2 separate regions of the Homo sapiens genome follow, and region 1 is linked to region 2. The links are contacts of gene promoters, found by promoter capture Hi-C in blood cells and fetal thymus (Javierre and others, 2016). All regions are on one chromosome and are shown on one strand. The core of a region is centred on a gene start or on the middle of the fragment in contact, and the rest is flanking DNA. Distances in the headings are between cores, read along the strand shown. Region 1 holds the start of NECTIN2 (nectin cell adhesion molecule 2). Region 2 holds the start of CEACAM19 (CEA cell adhesion molecule 19).

Region 1 (3,373 bases), core at 391-2,890, 170 kb before region 2:
CCTCCCCAGGGGGGCCGCTCTCCTCCCCTAGTGGGGTGGATGGAAGGACGCCAGGGGGTCCAAGGCATAGCAATGGGAGGGACGGGGGATAAGGGCGGCGGCTCCACTCGTCCACCTCCTGCTATGGCTCTGAGGACAAAGGCGCTACCAGAGGATAGATAAGGTCCCGAAACCGGGGAGTCCGGAACCCGGAGCCAGGAGCGCCCGCCCCGCCCCTCCCTGGCTCGGCGAGAGTGAAACCAGGAAAACTTCCCCGGCGACGTCTCCGTCGCCCCCGACCATTCATAGGGAAAGGGAGGAGTCTCCCAGCCTCTGGGACTCGGGGCCTCCCGTTCTATCTGGGACTCAGGCGACTGAGACTCCAGCCTCAAGACAGAGCCTTCGACCCTTGATCATATCTGGAGCCCAAGAGACGGGGCCCGCTGCTCGCACTTCTGTTTGGATCTCAGAAGACGTTCCTCTGCCTACAATTAAGTCTGAAGCCCACGAGATCGAGTCTCCTGTCCCCCGGTTCTGCCGGGAACCCTGAAAACGAAGCCCCCTGCCCACAATTAAATCCAGAAGCTACAAGTTTGATCCTCTCTCGCCCCCAGTTTTACCTAGATCCCAGTTAGACTTAGCGCCTAGCCTCCATTCTACCAGGGACCCTGAAGACGGAGCCCCCGGCCCCTAATTTTTCTGGAGTCCACGGAGTCAGAACCCCCAACTCCCTGAGGTTCGGGGTTGGAGCTCCGAGCTCAGGCCCTTCCCCCTAAGTCGCCAGAACTCTTATCCTTAGCCCTCCAAGGGACCCGAATCAGGTCCGCTTGTCCTCAGTTCTCTCCGGGCCTCAGACGCCCAAGCCGGGAAGAAGGAAAAATAGGGGAGGGAGGTGGTCTCGCCTCTTCCTCGAGACCTTACTGCGGTAGGTGGGGGGAACATTCCCCACATTCCTGAGAGGGGTAGAGGAGACAGAGACCCAGATCCGGGTGAACTACTCGGCGCGGGGTGGGGAGGGGGCACCAGGCCTTCCTGGGATTTAACCCTTTCGGCGCGGGAATCCGAGAAATGGGGAGGGGGACAGACAAGCAGGCGTAGGATGGGCAATTGGATTAAGAAGGATGGGGGTGGTGGTGAGAGAGATGCAGAAAGGAGGGGTCAGAGTCTCCTCGAGAGAATCGGACGTGTAGGGGGTCGGAGTCTGTGGGGCCAGCCAGGAAGGGGGCACGCGAGAGGGGGCTCGGGGAGCCGGGGGTGGGCGGGGAAGGTGCTCGGCTTCCCCAGCTCGGAAGGTAAGGTTGGAGGGGGTCCGCGCGAGGGCAGGGGGCCGTCCGCTCGTCTCACCGGTTTCCAGGAGCAGCAGCAGCAGCAGCGGCCACAGCAGCGGCGTCGGCGGCGATCTCGACGGCAGGAGGGCAGCGGCCCGGGCCATGGAGGGCCCGGGAGGGGACTGGGCCCGGCCGGAGGCCCGCGGGCCACTCTGTGGGGGCCGATCGGCTGGGCGGTTTAGTAGGTGCCTGTGGGGCTCCGGCTCCGGCTCCGGGCCGGTTCCCGCTGCGCTCTAGCCTCCCTGTTCTGCTCTCCCGGCCCAGCTCTCCCCGCCCGGCTCGGCACCCCCGGCCTCTCGCTCAGCTCCGGCGGTTCGAACCCGCTGACGTCACAGGATCCACCCGCTGCTCCCCCGAGTCAAGCCGACCCTGGCTCCGGCCCCGCCCCCTCCTGGCGTTCTGACCCCGCCCCCCGGATTCCACCCCTGTTCCTCCCCGGGATTCCATTCTCGCTCCTCCCCAGGATTCTAAGGTCGCCCCTGCCAAAGAATTCTGTCTCCTTCGCTCCCGGCGTTAAACCACGCCCCCTAAGGTCTAGCCACGCCCCCTCTGCTCCCGAGTAGTTCCCACGCCCCGCCCCCTGCCTACCGGCCGCCTCGCCAAGGTCTTGCCACGCCCCTTTCGGCCCTTCCGGCCGACTCCGCCCCCACCAGCCCCGCCTCCACCAGCCCCGCCCCTCGCCCTAGCCGGAGTTCTCTCGGTCTCTTAGCTCAGTCCGTCCTGGCCTCTGTCCCACCCACAGTTCGAATCCTGCCCTTTCCTGCCTGCCCGGGTCCTCTCATCACAGTTGCCTGAGGCACGTGGGGCTTTACGGTTCTGCCCCCAGCACGTCCCGGTTGTGCGACCTCCCCGCAGGTCGAGCCCATCGCCCTGAGCCTGTTTCTCGTACCCTCGTGCGTTTCTAATCTCTGCCCCGAACTCTAGGTGTCGCTGCACTCGTTTCTTTCTGGATTTCTCTGTCTCTCTTACGTGTCTTTGTGTCTCTCTCACTCTCTTTGGGTCTTCCTCTCTGTCCCTGTATTTCTGCCTCTCTGGGTCTTTCCGTCCTCATGCTTCGGTGTCGCTCTGTTTCTGGTCTTCCTTTGTCAGTCACTGTTTCTTTATTTCAATAAAAGAGACGGGGCGGGGGGGCGGCGGGGTCTCACTATGTTGCTGAGGCTGGCCTCAAGCGATCCTCCCGGCTCGGCCTCCCAAGATGCTGGGATTACAGGCGTGAGCCACCAAGCCCGGCCTGTCTGTCACTGTTTCTGGGTCACTTGGTCCCCATGTCTCTTTCCATCCTTTGACTCTGTCTCTGTGTCTCTCTGTCTCTATCTGTGTGCCTCTCTGTCTCTGTCTCTATTTCTGTGTATCTCTGTCTCTATCGGCCTGTCTCTGTGCCTCTCTGTCTCTGTGTGCCTCTCTGTCTCTGTGTTTCTCTGTCTCTATCTCTGTGCCTCTCTATCTCTGTGCTTCTCTGTCTCTGTCTCTCCGTGTGTCTCTCTCTGTCTCTATCTGTGTCTCTCTGTCCCTGTCTCTTTCTCTGTGTCTCCCTCTCGGCGTCTCTTGTCTCTGCGTGCGAGTCTCTCTCGCTGTCTCTCTGTCCCTGCTCTGTTCTCTGCTTCCTTCCCTCCCTACCTCCCTGCGCGCCCTGGTCCTCCCCTCCCAACACCTGCTCCGCGCCGCCTTCTCACCGCAGCCACCCGCCAGGGGGCAGCAGAGACCGGCCCCCGCGCTGCGCTGGCCCGGCCGGGCTGGGTGGGGCTGGGCTCCAGTCCGGCCTCCGGACCTGGTCACTCCCCGCGTCCTTGTCCCACTTCCCCTATCTCCCCAGCCTCCTCGCGTCTTTGTGTCTCTCGCTCAGACTCGGGCCCTTTGTCTCTCCCAGCGGCTCGCCCTCCTCCCTACCCCCACCTACCTCTTCGCATTCTTTGGGCTGCCCAGGGGGAGCTGGTGAGGCCGCGCCGGGGGGCGGGATGAGGGCGCGAAGCGGGAGGCCGGGGGAGGGGGTGCCACGGAGCGCCAGTCTGGGCCCAAGTTCGTCCAGGGCCAGGAGGCGCGGAGCTGCTCAGCTGGGGGCAGGTGCT
Region 2 (3,567 bases), core at 739-3,238:
CCAATACAAAACATCAGTAGTGCTGAAGCTGAGAAACTATGCTTTAGGGAAAATGTTTAAGATGGTGCCTGGCTCTTAACGATCACCCAAGAAATGCCAGCTGTCATTATTGCCCACCACCCTTTCCCTCACACTTTGCCCCGAGTGGATTCATCAGTAAATACTCGCTTTATAAACATAAAGATTGAGGGATGCATTCCTCACAACCAGGCATACAGTAAGTGCTCGATAAAAATTTGGTTAATGTTAGTGCATGTGAAAGGTAAATGAGATGGTGCATTCTCCAGTGTCAGGCACAAGGCGGGCATTTCATAGATATTTTATTAGTTAATGCATGTGAGGGTTAAAGACTATCTCTGGGGATTGGTACACAGTAGATGCTCAATATGTGTCAAGTGAATAAATGAGAGGACCAAATGAAATGGTGTTTGCACAGCACCTGGTGCATGGTAGCTGCTCAGGGCTCATTAGCTTCCTCACCTCATCCCCAGACCCTAACACTTACCAGCTACCTGGACCTCAGTCTTGGCCTTCATAGTCCATTCAGAGTTGATGGTAATGGCTACTTGGTAGGTGCCACTGTCTGTAGGCTGGGCGCGGCGCAGCAGCATGGAACCATTGGGGAAGCCCACGATGTCTCGCTGTCCCATGGCACTGCCATCCCTCTGAGGCCGTTGTATCCCAGGGATGTAGGTAAATAGCCTCGTGCCTCCGTACGTCTCCTCCCCCAGGTACCAGTTGAAGTCCTGGAAGGTGTCTGGGACACCCTGGACTGACAGGAGAAGGTCCTGGTTCTTTTGAGGCTGCTCTGGAATCTTCTGGATGTAGAGAGCTGCCTGGGAGCCTTGGAGCATCCAGAGGACCAGGATTGAGGCTGTGGGAAGTTACAGGGAAGGGCTGAGATCAGGGGTGTTGCCAGGGACCATGGCATGCTCCTCTCTAGATACAGATCTTCAGCGGGGAGCAAGGACTCTGAGTGCTGCTCATTGGAAACAATGCTGGGATTGATTAGTGATGTCTGCCCTGGGTGCAGGAGTGGGAACACAGGCATGGTTACCACAGATTTGCCATCCTGTTGATCCAGAGGTTTTTCTACCTTGAGATGCTGTGTGGCCTGCTTCTAAACACATGGACTCTCTGAATTCATTCATTCATTCATTTATTCAACCAATACTTATAGGCATATGTAATATATAAGCTATAATACCAACTATATGTAATACATCTAAACTTCCTTCAATTTCTAGACACTGGAGATATAGCAGGGAACCAAACATACATAAATTCCTGCCTTCATGGTCCTAACATTATAGAAAATTCCATAGATAAAATGGCAATGAGGCTGTGATTCTGTTGCCCCTCCCCCATCTTATTCTAATTTCATCCTCTCAGGTAATCTTTCCCTACTTCTAAGAGGAAACTTCAATCTCTGGGCTGAGTCCCCATTTCTCCCCTTGGCCTTTAGGGTCTATTTCCTCCTTACCTGAGAGCAGGAGGCTCTTTGAGAAGCAGCCCTGGGTCCCCATGGGAATCTCCATCTTGGCGTCTTGTGGAAATGCCAAGGGGCCACGAGCTGGACACTAAGGGGGCCAGAGGGGTGGGCCCTGGCTGTCTGAAGTAGGCCAGCTCAGTGGGGATCCCAGGGGTGCCTTAGAGACACCGCTGGGGCTGGCCCAGCCCCAGCATGCCCTGTCCATGGGCTCTGGAGGCTCCACCTATACTCCCTGGGATGGGAGCACAGACAGAGGTTGAACCAGTTTTTCAGGGTGACTGGGGAACTTCCCAGGACTCCTCCCCTGACCCTCTTCAACCTCTTTTTCTCACTCAGCGTGACTACAACAGCAGTCACTGTAGCAATAGTCATAACAGCCTCTGTTTGAACAATTCCCCTGGGTTTGTTCAAACACACACTGCCTCATTCAGCAGCCACCATAAATAACTGTTCCCATTGCACAGATGTGGAAACAGAGGCCCAGGAAAAGAGGCAAGTCTGCCAATAGACAGAGGTGGGATTTCACCTGTGGCTGACTCACTTGAAGGCTCTGAGGCAGGCTGGGTGCGGTGGCTCACGCCTGTAATCCCAGCATTTTGGGAGGCCAAGGTGGGTAGATCACGAGGTGAGGAATTTGAGACCAGCCTGGCCAACATGGTGAAACCCTGTCTCTACTAAAAATACAAAAGTTAGTCAGGCGTGGTGGTGGGCACCTGTAATCCCAGCAACTGGAGAGGCTGAGGCAGGAGAATCACTTGAACTTGGGAGGCAGGGGTTGCAGGGAGCCGAGATCGCGCCACTGCATTCCAGCCTGGGTGACAGAGCGAGACTTCGTCTCAAAAAAAAAAAAAAGCTCTTAGCCTCGTGTTTTTCTTTTTTTTTCTTTTGAGATGGAGTTTCGCTCTTGTTGCCCAGGCTGGAGTGCAATGGCGCAATCTCAGTTCACCGCAACCTCTGCCACCTGGGTTCAAGCGATCCTCCCACCTCAGGGAGTAGCTGGAAATGCAGGCATGCGCCACCACGCCCGGCTACTTTTGTAGTTTTAGTAGAGACAGGGTTTCTCCATGTTGGTCAGGCTGGTCTTGAACTCCTGACCTCAGGTGATCTGCCCACCTTGGCCTCCCAAAGTGCTGGGATTACAGGTGTGAGCCACCGCGCTCAGCCTGTTTTTTTTTTTTTTTTTTTTTTTTTTTTTTCTTGAGACAGGGTCTTGCTCTGTCTTTCCATTCATGAACATTGGTTGTCTTACCATTTAAATATGTCACCTATAATTGCAAGAATATTTTGTAGTTTTTGGATTGGTTTCTTTTTTAGATGCTGTGTCACCCAGGCTGGAGTACAGTGGCACAATCTCAGTTTACTGCAACCTCCGCCTCCCAGGTTCAAGTGATTCTTCTGCCTCAGCCTTCTGAGTAGCTGGGATTACAGGCATGCGTCACCATGCCTGGCTAATTTTTGTATTTTTAGTAGAGATGGGGTTTTGCCATGTTGGCCAGGCTGGTCTCAAACTCCTGACCTCAGATGATCCTCCTGCCTCGGCCTCCCAAAGTACTAGGAGTATAGGCATGAGCCACTGCACCCAGCCCCAGAGTGTATGTTTTGTACTTTTTTGGATCATGTTTATTCCAAGTGTGTTATTCTTTTTTTTTTTTTTTAAGACAGGGTCTCGCTCTGTTGCCCAGGCTGGAGTATAGTTGCATGATCATTGCTCACTGCAGCCTCCAACTCCTGGGCTCAAGCAATCCTCCCGTCTCAGCCTCCTGAGTAGCTGGGACCACAGTTGTGTGCTACCATCCCTGGTCAATTTTTATATGTTTTGTAGAGATGGGATCTCACTATGTTGCCCCAGGCTGGTGTTGAACTCCTGGGCTCAAGTGATCCTCCCACCTTAGCCTCCCAAAGTACTGGGATTACAGATGTGACTCACCATACCTGGCTTAGCCTAGTTTTTAAAAAGCATCCTCCATTCATTCCAGCACACATTCCCAGTGCCCAGTTGTGTGTGCTGGGTGATGTTGGTGACACAGTGATGATTGAGACCACCTCTGCTCTGCCCTCTGTCCACAGTAGGGCAC

Evidence for each region. Contacts are between HindIII fragments. The CHiCAGO score rates a contact against its expected background, and 5 or more counts as called.
Region 1: a contact is called between the fragment with the promoter of NECTIN2 here and the fragment with the promoter of CEACAM19 in region 2, in 1 of 17 cell types (neutrophils). The highest score is 7.9, in neutrophils.

Annotation. Positions count from the first base shown.
Region 1 is chr19:44,844,564-44,847,936 of GRCh38, reverse strand. It overlaps NECTIN2 (nectin cell adhesion molecule 2), which reads right to left and starts at 1,640. Exons shown (of 9, transcript NM_001042724.2): 1 at 1,324-1,640. The coding sequence starts at 1,411. RefSeq lists silencers at 1,570-1,669, 1,800-1,879, 1,960-2,009, 2,877-3,276. The HindIII fragment of the contact is 16,272 bases long and covers 1-3,373 here.
Region 2 is chr19:44,669,903-44,673,469 of GRCh38, reverse strand. It overlaps CEACAM19 (CEA cell adhesion molecule 19), which reads right to left and starts at 1,988. Exons shown (of 8, transcript NM_001127893.3): 1 at 1,484-1,988; 2 at 506-874. The coding sequence starts at 1,538. The HindIII fragment of the contact is 14,850 bases long and covers 1-3,567 here.